2 separate regions of the Homo sapiens genome follow, and region 1 is linked to region 2. The links are contacts of gene promoters, found by promoter capture Hi-C in blood cells and fetal thymus (Javierre and others, 2016). All regions are on one chromosome and are shown on one strand. The core of a region is centred on a gene start or on the middle of the fragment in contact, and the rest is flanking DNA. Distances in the headings are between cores, read along the strand shown.

Region 1 (6,404 bases), core at 3,549-6,048, 270 kb after region 2:
TAACGGCTATTTACAAATGTCTTAAGGAAAGCATAAAAGGTTAACATTAAAGCACAGTATATATTAATATTTCATCATTTTTGCATAGTTTATTGTGGCTACTTAGGTTCCCATCTCCTTCCAGGGCAAAGGCAATATTCTGATCATATTTGAACCCTCACTAGCCAGGATAGTAACAGAGAGACTACTTTCCTGTATATTGAATGGATGGAGGGAGGGAGGGAGGGAGAATATGAGGAAAGGAGGGATAGGCAAATGAATGACTAACAACATCATCACAACACCAGGAAACCAGGAGATAACATTATGATGGCACAATTCCAACGTGTACACACATATGCACACACAACGTGCACACACATATTGGAACAGAGGTATGTAAATACCTCTGTTCAGGCACTTGATGTGGTATATGAAATCTTCAGCATAGGTTGACAAAGATCAGAATTAGGAAAATGAACCTAAAGTTAAAGGGAAGATGAACTGGAAATATTTCCAGTGAGCAAGGTGGAAATATTTTTTACTAACTCTGCAAGTAAACAAAGGAAACAGAAGATCAAAGGGAGTGCCAGGAAGCTGCAGCAGGAGAGATTTCAGAGAGAGAGGCAGCAGGCAGTCAGGGAGAGGCACCAACTCAGGAGTGAGCCCTCAGCTCGAGTCCTGATGCCACCACCAGCTCTGTGTCCTTGGACACCTTGCAACCTCTGAGAGTTTCAGTTTTCTGGTTGTGAGGACTAAATAATATAGCATGGAATGGTATATGGTATATGGTAACCACTCAGTAAGTGCTAAGTCCCTCTGTCCCCTGCAGAACACCTTTCCTAAGTCTCAGGGCTTGTAAAATTGACCACAGGAATTGAGGTGGTGGAAGAATCTCCTTCCCTGAAGACCTTTAGGAAATAGTTTCAAAGAATCCCAGACAACTAGAGAAATTTATTCATTCTGTCAAAGAGTACCTATGGCCCTGGAATAGAATAAGAAATAAGATACAATTCTAGCCCCAAAGGAACATATGGTCTAATGAGGTTAGAGCCCAGAGGGGAGGCTGGGATACTGCAAATGGTGCTTTATCCCAAGAGCAATGAAGAACCACTGAAGAGATTTAAGGGGCATTGCATAGGCAGAATCTCCTTTTAAATAACAGCTCTAGAAGCATCATAGAAAAACTGTTGGACTGAAGCAAGAAGATGAGTTAGGCAGGTATGGCAGTACCATGTAGGTAACAGCAGAAGCCTGAACAAAGGAAGTGGCAAGAGGGCTGAGGAAGGAGCAAATTCCTCTCAGGTAGGTACCTGTCTGGGGAGGTATAAGTCCCTTGCTTAAGGACCTAGCCTGAAGGACAAAAGCCTTAAACATTTTACTCCCGAAGAGAAAGTTCCTCTCAAAGGCAATTCTGAGAAGAGATGTGTTGACATCCCAGTGAGGGCCCAGCTTAGTGGCATAGAAATCCCCAGGCATATCCAGAAAGGGAAACTTAAGCTCAGAGCTTTGCATAAGAAGCCAAAGATGCTGAAGCTCTATCTGGAGGCTATTCAGAAGCCAGCGCCTCAGGGAGGCATCATCAAAGTTGTCAAAGCTCAGCTGTGACTCGTGAGCACTTCTGGTGCCACTGTTTAAACTGTTCTTTCTGCCCTGAACACTGGGCAGAATACACCATGAAATGCCCTACAAACTGCATAAGACAATCCTCAAGGCCAACCCATTGACAGAGATGCAAAGAGAGCTCAGAGCACGTAAGACAATAATCCCAGGACTGATGGTGATCACCAGGGCCGCAGGGCAAGTTGTATTCTGTAAAGACACAGTCTCCTTCATTTGTGAAGCATCTGGCTAACTGATCTCTCAAAGCACTTTCCTGCTGTACTTCCCCTGTTTTTTTCTGCCCAAGAAGAGGGATGTTGGGAAAAAAATAAGACTTTCATTGGATTTGCAATTTATTCAAGAACACACACACACACACACACACACACACACACACACGCACTCCTTAGGACTTGTTAGCACTTCACTAGAGAAGGGAAATGATTGCTCTGAGAATTAGAAAATGAAAATTTCTCACTTGGATTTTCACTAATGTTTTATCCCATGAGCTGTACCAGCTTCCCTGGAGGACAGGTAGGCTATGCATGCATATGTGTGTGTATGTGAGGATATGTTTATTGAGGAAGCAGGTAAATCTAGGTGGAAACAGATTGGTAGAATGAAGAATACAAAGGTTTGGTGGTTTGACATACACCAATTCAAATTCTAGGTATATTCTATCCTAACTATGGAACCAAGAGAAGTGCTTGGACATTCTTTGCCTCAGTTTCCTCAGCTAAAATATTGGCAATAATATCTACCTTTTAGGACTACCATGGATTCAAATTTGATAAACACATAAAACACCTGGCACACAGTAAGCCCATGTATGTTAGGCCCTCTCCTTCCACAGAAATACTAAGAGACTGGCTTGCTTGGGCTTGTCAAATGTGCAAAGGTTAGCCACAAGACCTCAAGCAGAGGCAGGTGGCTCCAGGGAAAGGTGGAACAGAGTCATAAAGATTGAGAAGATATCAGGATTAAGGGACCTTGCAGACTGTTTCAGCCTCCCTCCAAGTTTAACAGATGGGGAAACAGGGCAAATACTGTTTCTGAGCCTTCTTATTCTGAGACATTTACTACCGCTGGTAGGTAATGCCATTGCTAAGGCACTCAACACTCTTACAACGGGGGAAACTGATGTCTCCATTTTACAGACGAAGAAACTGCTGAGGGTGAGTGACTTGCTTAAGACTACACAGCCAGTAAAGGCACCACTGGGATTAAACTACTTCTGATCCCACAGGACATACTCTTCTCTTCTGTTCCTCTGGTTCCCATCACACTATATATTGTAGCATATCTGATGGTTTACCTGGGACTTTCCCATCCAGTATCTCACTGAGGAACTGTACGTGGTACAGGGTAGAGCTCAATACGTATTTGTTGACTTTATAGGTTCATGTTGATTCTCAGGAAATAGACTGAAAGCCACTGGGGAGACTGAGGATCAGAGGGATTGAGCAACTTGCTCTAGATCACCCAGCAATTAAGATATGGAACAAGGCCTGGCACACAAGTCTTCTACAACAGAAGTCCCCAACCCCTGGGCCATAGACTGGTACCAGTCCATGGCCTGTTAGGAACTGGGCCACGCAGCAGGAGGTGAGCATTGGGAGAGTGAGCATTACTGCCTGAGCTCCGCCTCCTGTCAGATCAGTGGCAGCATTAGATTCTCACAGGAGAGCAAACCCTATAGTGAACTGTGCATGTGAGGGATCTAGGTTGCATGCTCCTTTGAGAATCTAATGCCTGATGATCTGCCACTGTCTCCCATCACCCCCAAATGGGACCATCTAGTTGCAGGGAAAAAAGCTCAGGGCTCCCACTGATTCTACGTTATGGTGAGTTGTATAATTATTTCATTATATATTACAATGCAATAATAATAGAAATAAAATGCACAATAGATGCAATGTGTTTGAATCATCCTGAAACCATCCCCACCCTGCCACCTCTGGTCTGTGGAAAAATTGTCTCCCATGAAACTGATCCTTGATGCCAAAAAGGTTGGGGACTGCTGCTCTACAACGTCCTACTGAGGAAGAAATGCTGACTAGATTAGTGAAGTCAAGCTGCCTAGAAGAATGGAGGCCTCCACAGATCTTTTAATATAAAAATTCATCTCTTGTGCATGCTGAAGTACTTAGAAGTAAGGGTTCCTGATATCTGGAATTTACATACCAAATGATTCCAAAAAAGAGAGAGTGAAATGTTAACAATTTTTGGATCTAGGTGATGGGTATTTGTTCATTTTGCGGTTCTTCCAACTTCTACACAGATTAAAATTTTTCAAAACAAAAAGTTGGAGACAAATGCACCTCCAGCTTCTCTCCCTTTCTAAAAAGCCCTTGAGACTACTCCCCAGTCCCCAGGAACCATGACTGATTTCACCCCCAGCACCTACTCAAACACTGTGAGTCCTCAAGAGGGGCCTCTGTTTCCCACCATGGCAGCCTCCGCCCCTCGCCGTCCACACAGAAGGCCTTCCCACTGCCCCTGTCCTTCTGGCTGGCTCGATACTGGCCATTCTGGTCACATTGCAGGCCTGCTTCGTTCCTCTGACAGTCAGTGACACCTAGAACCAATAGATTGACATAGCCGTCAATAATGGGCCTCTGGAATCCCCTGACTCCTACTCCCAGGCTCTCGGTCATTGACAAGGTGTCCAAGTCACACATCTAACTCAGACATTCCAGCTTAAAACTCTTCAGTGTTCCCACTGTTCTGATCAATAAGGCCCCTGTGATTTGGCCGCCACCCACCCTAAGTTCTGCACACATACCCCATGCTTCACACACCACCTGCTTCATTCCATGCCCTGAATACACCAATCTCTCTGATACCATTTGCTCCAACACAAGCTTTACTCATCTGGGCCCTCTTCTGGCCCACAGCTCCCCCAGTCTTTGCTGCGCGAACTCTCCACCACTCACCTGTTTTCATCCCAATTCTCATTGTCTCAGGAAAGCCTTCCTACTATGGTCTAAATCTATGGGTGCCACCTGCCAAAATTCACATGTGGAAACCCAGTGCCCAGTGTGACGGTATTAGCAGGTGGTGCCTTTGGGAGGTGACTAGATCATGAGAGTGGAACACTCATGAATGAGATTTGTACCCTTTAAAAGAGGCCCAAGGGGGCTCATTTGTTCCTCCCAGCATGTGAGGGCACAGTGAGAAGGCGCCATCTGTGATACCTTTATCAGACACCAAATCTGCTGACAACTTGATCTTGGACTTCCCAGTCTCCAGAACTGTGAGAAATAAATTTCTGCTGTTTATAAGCCACCCAGTTTATGGTATTTTCTTATAGCAGCCCAAATGGACTAAGACATCTCTGGACGTCCCAGCCCAGTCAGGCCCAAATGTTACACACTATCCCAGGGACCCACACCTCTCCTTCACAGCAGGGCACACTGTTACAATTCCCATTTTCCTGTGTGAATGAACGATTGATGACTGCCTGCCTCCCACTCGATAGACGTTCCAGAAAGGCACAGACCAGGTATGGTTTTGCTCATTATTGTATCCAAATGCCTTGCTCAGTGTCTGACCCACAAAACAAGCTTCTGTCCAAAATCAATAAATGCTAGTCAAATCCATGGATGAATACCTCTATATCCATGTTCAAGCTGTTTCTTCTTCCTAGAAGGCCTTTCTCCACCGGGCCCCCTAGCTAATGTCCCCTTGTCCTTCAAGACCTCTCACAAGCTGCTATAACAGTATCTAATATGTACCTCCATTATACTATTCATTACATCACATGGATATGCTCACACGTTTCTTTTCTCTGTCAGACTCTAAACTCCTTGAGGACAGGGACTTTATCATTACTTGTTTTATTTAATATATACCCACTATACAGTTGGCAGAAAGCAGGTACTCAATAAATTTTGGATGAATGATATTAAAAGGGAATGCCTTCATTTGGTTCTCCAGGTCTGGGAAGTAGGTGAAAGATAATATTTTATGGCAGCCCAGAGATTTCATAACATCTGAGTTTCTATATTTCCAGACTATTGGTTATGTGATTCACCATTGATTAATAAGAACTTTTTTGTGGGAGGTTACAAAGGCTATTTTTAAATAGAATACTTTGCATGTCCTGCATGCTATACATGAGTTAATACATCAATAAACAAACAAGTAAATGAAGAGCTACTTCTGCTGAAGAGTTATCAGCAGAACCTCAAACATGGTCCAGTGAACCAGCTAAGTTATAAAATGTAGGAGAAAAGTATAAGCAAGATCAATAATAGAGACCTGAACTATATAGAGGAGTTGGGATTCTAAAAGCTAACCTAACACCAAAAGGAAATCAAAGAAATATTGTAATCTGGCATTATTTAAAACTTGGCAGACTCTTCTGCCCTGTGCTTCTCTTCAGTACAATTCCATCTAAGAACACAGGCCTGGTAATTCAATGCGGGTTAATGAGTCATAGAGAAGTTTCTTAGGTATGAACAGATCCTTAGCACAGACTCCAACCTTGATCCTAGAGAACCATTCACTAAAATCTCTTTCACTGCTCAGGGAAGATGTTTGGGAGAATGGCAATGATTCAATACAGCTCTCTACTACTGCATGAAAATGCAATCAATGCTCACCCCCAAAATGGGTGGGGAATAAATGCTTATTGTTTATGCTAAACATTTTGATTCCACTTTGCTACAGACTGATTGTTTGTGTCCCTCCCTTACCAAACTTATATATGGAAGCTCTAATCCCCAGTGTGATGGTATTTGGAGGTGAGGCCTTTAGAAAGTAACTAGGTTTAACTGAGGCCATGAGGGTGCAGCCCCCACGATGTTGTTAATGCCCTT
Region 2 (6,623 bases), core at 1,408-3,907:
AAGGAGGATAATTGCACTTGCTAAATAATATTGTTATGGGAATTGTAGAATGTGCCTAATAAATGTTTGTTGGGTGAACTGAGGTTGGTCTTATACATGTGTTGGCTCAGTGCTTGCTAATGCACATTAAATGGAGTCCCTTTCTCTTAGCACATGGCGGACATGCTCAACAAATGCAGAAGAAAAGAATAAAGAGATGAAAGCATAAGTCATATTTGCAATACACCTTTAGCACAGATTAAATTCCCAAATACACTCGGCTGTTCCTGAGATCACTCCAGTGCCTTCCTCCTTGGCTGATCTCCTTCTGGGCTGCCATCTTCCTCCTTCCACTGCAGAATCTTTACAGAGTGCTTTCATATCTCCCAGAGAAGTCCCCCTTGTAACTCTACTTCCTCAAAGTTTTCTTGGCAATTCTCACATGCATTTTCTTCAATATGAACATTTACAACAATTTTTTCCATTAAGATCTCACTGAGACCCTGGTTGGACATGTGCTCCCTTTGCATATTAATTCGGGAGGATGACCATGTATGGAATTTGGCTATGAAACAAGGCTGGTTTCCAAATGGAGTCCAGCTCGTTTCTATCAGTCTCACAGCCCACACAGGGGGCGGGGCTTTCAGGACATCCTGAGAACTCCAGTGCCGTGCACACCTCTGTCCCAGAAGCATCTAAATCATGAAACAAGCATGGGGTGGGTGGTCTGGGTTCCCCAGGCAGGGGCTGCCTAGAAGAGAGGTACCTTGTGCTGGTCCCGGGAGCCTTCCCTCCAACCTGCTCCCTGGGTCCCTCCACACGCTCTGCTCCTTTGCTGGTCTCCTCTGGCTGAGTCCTCGGCTCTGTCCTTCACTCCTCCTCAGCACCGGCTGTTCTGGGAGCTGACTGGGGCTCCAGAGTACTTGGACTCATGCTTAAACCTCTCGCCTCCTCTGCCCACTCAGACTTTGGCTTCTCTCAAACGCTCACCTTTTCTCCATCCTCTCCCTGCCCTCCCAGACATAGCAACCTGCAAAGCTATACCCAAATAAAGGCGCAGCCATACCCAGAGCCGAAATAAACAGCGACTTAGCTCCTTCTGGGCACTCCTGTAGGACACAGTCAGCTTCCCCTAAGTAGGAATGGTTAGAAATTGGCATCAGAAGATCTAAGTTTGGGCCCTGGCCACTTATTAATGAGGAGCTCCTGGGCAAGTCCTTTACTTGCTCTCACTTTCCATTTCTTTCATTTGTGAAATGGAGCTGATAACTTTCTGGTAAGGTGGTTCTGAACCAACTATAGTCAGGCACCATGCCAGGCGTGAGGATTTAACCAAGATGAAACAGACCCACTCCCCGCCATCATTACACACACCGAGGCATTGAGAGGAATTCCTATTTCCCAGGTCTCAGTTTGCTGTCGGCTCTCGGCCTCAGTTCTGGCTGAAGCAGACCTAGAGTCTGATTCTGGCAAGTGGTTTAACCCCAACACACGGTTTCCTTATCTGTGAAGGGGGCTTCTTAACCCCCAAGGAAGCCATCAGTGTCATTTGGGGATAAACACTCTTTTGCCATCACCCCTCCGTCTCTAGGCTGTTCTGCCAGGAGCAGGTCCTGCCCTGGGCTGTGGAATCTGGGGCTCAGAAGCTGCCAGGTACCCACCTCCTGCCCTCCTTGCACTGCCTGCCTCTGCCTTTTCCTCACCATGCCTGGCCCTAGCAGGCTGGCTCTACACGGTCACATATGTGACTCCCCTGGCTTTTGGAGGTGCAGACCTTTGTCCCTTCCCCTTGGTGTACCCTGGGGTGCAGGTGGAAGAGAGAGAGACTCTGGGGTGCCCACATCACCCCCACCCTGGAACAGCAGGCTTCATAGGCAGGACCCAAGTATGGACACTCTGCAGACTGCAGAGGGCTGTGCAGACCGGAGGTGACAGCAGTTGGGGTTAGACATCACCCTGAGCACTGTTTGCTCAATAAGGAGCTTTTGTTGAAAGCTGGCATTTTTCTTTCCAATTTTTTTTGGCTTTTTCCATCTCCCATCTTCGCAGCATCTCCAATGCTTGGAGTCTTGGAGTTTTCAAACTCAGAGACTCTAGAAGTCACCTAACAACTTCGTCGCTTTACGCTGCTCCTGGAGGGTGAGTGACCCACCCGAGGCCACACAGCCAGGTTAGGCGAAGACGGGTCTGGAGCCCGGGCCCCTGACTCCCAGTTCTGCTGAGGGCCCCGTTCTTTCTGCACTGTTTCAGGTGGGGAGAGAGGGCAGGCTGGACCTGTGCAGTTTGTTTCCCCAAGTGTCGCACCGTCCTCCTCACCCTGCCAGCTTCAGCCAACCTGGGCAGCTGACTCCTCACCCTGGGCTCTGTCCTTGCCCTGTAAGTGGCCACCTTCCAGCCCCAAACCTTCCTGGCCCTTTTCATCCTGCCCACCAGCCCCCATGTAGCAGGACCCAGTAGAGAAGGGAGCTGGGTCTCCCTCTGAGCCCCTCCAGGCAGGACTCACCGTGGCCAGGACGGTGCTGGCGGCTGCTGCTGTCACTGCTGCCAGCGTCCAGGGCAGGAACCACCTCATGCCTGGACGTCAGTGGCACAGGCATCGACCGAGCAGCCCAGAGGATCCGACCACCTCTCGGGGGAGCTGGGCCCAGACTGGCCGGCCCATCAGGAGCACCAGATATGCCTCTTCCGCAGCCCTTGGGGGGTTTTATTAAAGCAAGATCTGACGTCAGGGTGAAGGACAAACCCTGCATTTTCCTCTGAAAAAACTTTTCCTGCCTCTCTCTCTTTTTTTTTTTTCTTTCTTCCCTCTGTCCCCACCTCCAGCCTGAGCTTGGCCAGCCTCCCCAGCTCTGACAGTTCTTAAAGGGAAAGTTACAAGGCTATGACTTCACACTAGGGTGTGAAATTCTCACAGAGGAGCTGGGGTCATCCTGCCTAGGTCTTTCACTACTGTAGGGAGGGGGGAGCATGGGAGGGTGCAGGATGTCCGAGGAGATACTGTTACCCCAGGCAGGCGGGTGTGTGGGCTTTGAGAGGGCTCCCAGTGGGAAATCAACTCCCTGTCATTTCTTCAGGCTGCTCCTACTTCTGGTTTTCTTTTTCCTTTTCTTTTTCTTTTTCTTTTCTTTTCTTTTTTTTTTTTTTTTTTTTTTTTTTTGAGACAGAGTCTCGCTCTGTCGGCCAGGCTGGAGTGCAGTGGCGCGATCTCTGCTCACTGCAACCTCTGTCTCCCAGGCTCAAGCAATTCTCCTGCCTCAGCCTCCTGAATAGCTGAGATTACAGGCATGTGCCACCACACCCAGCTGATTTTTGTATTTTTAGTAGAGACGAGGTTTCACCATGTTGGCCAGGCTGGTCTCAAACTCCTGACCTCAGGTAATCCGCCCACATCAGCCTCCCAAAGTGCTGGGATTACAGGCGTGAGGCATTGCGCCCAACCCTACTTCTGGTTTTCATTTGCCCTCTTGCACTCCCCTCTACCTAGCTGCAAGCGAAAGAGGTGGCTTTCAGTCCACCCATCTAGAGATGATAGGAATTCACAAATAAAATGAGCTCTGAGGCTCAGGTTACAGCATCACCTTCATGACACGTGAAAGCCACGGTAACGCATTTGCTGTTTGCCGTCTCTGCTCATTGGTCAGAAGCCGTTTGGTGCTGGAGCTGTCCCCACGTGTCTCTGGATGCTTGCTATCCCTGGGGGGTTGGGTTTCCTGGCCTGTACCCTTATTGCACTGCTGCCACTGAGTCTCTTCCTTGGGCAAGAAAGGAGATGGGATGTCTTCTATGGGCTGTCCTAGTCCAGCCCTGTGCTCCCCATGGGGACCGCTGCCACAGCCTCCTGACTGATACCCAGCCTCCCTGCCCACCTTCTACCATCCACACATCTCAGAGCAATCCTTGAACTAGCGTCATGTATAGATCATCTTCTGGATACAACTGTCCAAAGCCTGCCCATCACACAGCACAGAGTCCCCAGTCCTGGCGTGGCCCCTGGGCCAGCCAGCTCCCTGTACACTTCTTCCTCTCTCCCTTTCGTGCACCATGCCCAACCACAATGGCCTCCTTGCAACTCCTCTCACACCTTGGCAAGTTCTCAGCATCTCCAGGTCTCAGTAGGAATACTCGACACTGAGGTTTAAATGACAGTTACTCCTTCTCTTCTCTTTTCCTGTAGCTTATTAACAAGGGATGCTGAAGCATGTGTGGCTGCTTGGAGGTAGCAGCAGGCTTGTGTTCATGGAAGAGGTTTATGATCCCTATAGACATGACCCCAGAAGAGATGGTGCTCATGATTTCTCCATTTACTGACCTGGGGATGTGCCTCTGATCCAATTCCGGCCAATGAGACATAAGGGAAACCTGCTAGGGTCTTCTAGAAAAGATTCCCTTCCTCAGGAAGAGAATGACCATCTACTCATTCTTTTCTTTCCTTGTGTGCAAATGTGATGGTTGGAGCTGCAGCAGCCATTTTGGGTATATGAGGCTGAGAATAAAAAGTCAACAAATTGAGGATGGCAGAGTGGAAGCAAAAAAAAGGTCTGAGTCGTTGGGACTTCATGTTGTTGTTGGAGCCACCATTCAGACTTCTCATTACATGAAATAATTTAATATTTTATTGTTTAAACTGTAGTTAGTCTGAATTTTCTTTTGTTGGAGTCAAGTTGTATACTAATTGATACATGAGGATTACTAAAATCATATATGTAAAATTAAAGGGCAGGGTATGTGGGGGGCATGTAAGGACTGCCCAATAAATGTCAGTCATTTTCTTCTCATTAATTTATTGATGCTTAAAAACAAATCCCAGGCTGGGCACGGTGGCTCACACCTGTAATCCCAGCACTCTGGGAGGCCGAGGCGGGCAGATCACAAGGTCAGGAGATCGAGACCACCCTGGCTAACACAGTGAAACCCCGTCTCTACTAAAAATATAAAAAATTAGCCAGGCATGGTGGCGGGCACCTGTAGTCCCAGGTACTCGGGAGGCTGAGGCAGGAGAATGGCGTGAACCCTGGAGGCAGAGGTTGCAGTGAGCCGAGATCGCGCCACTGCACTGCAACCTGGGTGACAGAGCAAGACTGTCTCAAAAAACAAAACAAAACAAGCAAACAAACAAAGCAAAAAATAAATCCTAGGAGGCCAGCATTGTTGACAGGTGTCATTAATAAATAACCCAAGGTGTTAGGGGCCAATCTAGGCTCACTTGGCTTTTGATGAACACTAAGTATGAACGGGCTCTGTGCTGTAGAGCATCTCATGACTACAAGGCAGACAGTGTTATGAAATAGGTGGAACACATCTCAGAGATGCTAGATGGTTTCAGAGCACACGTATGAGTAGTAGATCTGAGGCTGAAACTAAAGTCTCTTAACCTCAGACAAGGCACAGAGTCAGGACCAGACATTTCCAAGCCAGCTTGACCTGCCAAAGCCTCTCAATGTTAAGTGTAACAAGAGCCTGCAGAGCTGGAAGCCATTGAACTCCACCATCATTTTTAGGAAATCCAATTGTCTCGAGCAATTGAAGCAGGCACCCCAAAACATGATCAAAGTGCTGACCATTCCACCTGTGGGTGAAACCTCACATGACCCGGTGAGCCTCATGGGCACCTGCCATTCTTCAATGTCAGTGAAACTGAAAACAAACGGCCCAGTGACCTGGCCAGGATGGTAGATTTGGAGGCAGAATGCCAAGGTGTCCCCCAGCTCTTCCATTTACTGGGGGCCTCGGACAATCAACAACCTCTCTGTGCCTCAGTTTTGCTTGTTTAAAGAAATGATGTTAGTGTCTACCAGATAGGGTCCTCAGGAGGCCAAAAGGGGATAATTGGTATGTCCCCACTTTCCTGATTAGAGGAGCCAGTATGGGCCGCAGCCTAGGCTGCTACGATTGGGTTGTTGTGTGTCCATCCCCACAAGAGCCGGGCAAACACTAAGTGTCTGGCCAGTGGACCAGAACAATAGTTGCTGTGTTCCAGGTGACACCATCTCACCAAATCCTCATCTCAATTCATTCTCACAACCAGTCTCCCATTAGACATTATTATCCCCATTCGACAGATGAGGAAATGGAGGCATGGAGAGATAAGTAACATTTCCCTGCCATTCGGCTAGTACATGGCAAAATTGTGATCTGAACACAGATCTGTGCAGCTTCAAACAATTTTTTTCCCCAAGTAGAGCCAGCTTCCTCATGTGTTGAACAAATAAATGAATAAGTAAGGAATGAATGAATTCAGTAGATGATGGACGGATGGGCAGAGGGATGGAGGCACTCAAGTATGGGGAGATCATACCACTGTTTGGAATGTCCCATTTCCCAGGACTTCCAGGGACAGTCTTCCGCAAGGATGTCCCCCTGTCCTAATCACTTCGTCTAAATAGGCCCTCCGGGCTGGTCTGTAGCTCAGTCACCCACTTTCTTCCTTCATGGTTCTAGCCCTGTGTGCCATTGTTTGTTTATTGAGTATTGATCATTTCCCACATAGATTTTGAGGTCCAAGGGTGAGACCAGGCCCACATCTTCTTATCTATACTGTGTCCACAGCATCAGCACAGAGCCTGGCATGCAGAGGGTACTTGAGACATATTTTTTAGTGAATGACCAAATGAACCAATGAAGAAGTAGATGAGTGAGGTGGTGAA

The links. Contacts are between HindIII fragments. The CHiCAGO score rates a contact against its expected background, and 5 or more counts as called.
Region 1: a contact is called between a fragment that was not itself captured here and the fragment with the promoter of CCN4 in region 2, in 11 of 17 cell types (activated CD4 T cells, non-activated CD4 T cells, total B cells and 8 more). The highest score is 8.5, in activated CD4 T cells.

What each region holds. Positions count from the first base shown.
Region 1 is chr8:132,921,093-132,927,496 of GRCh38, reverse strand. TG (thyroglobulin) reads right to left here. Exons shown (of 48, transcript NM_003235.5): 22 at 3,989-4,159. Among named protein-coding and RNA genes, the nearest start is that of TG, 57 kb to the right of the region's middle. The HindIII fragment of the contact is 702 bases long and covers 4,448-5,149 here.
Region 2 is chr8:133,187,073-133,193,695 of GRCh38, reverse strand. CCN4 (cellular communication network factor 4) reads right to left here and starts at 2,657. Exons shown (of 5, transcript NM_003882.4): 1 at 2,483-2,657. The coding sequence starts at 2,551. RefSeq lists a silencer at 1,538-1,785. The HindIII fragment of the contact is 13,274 bases long and covers 1-6,623 here.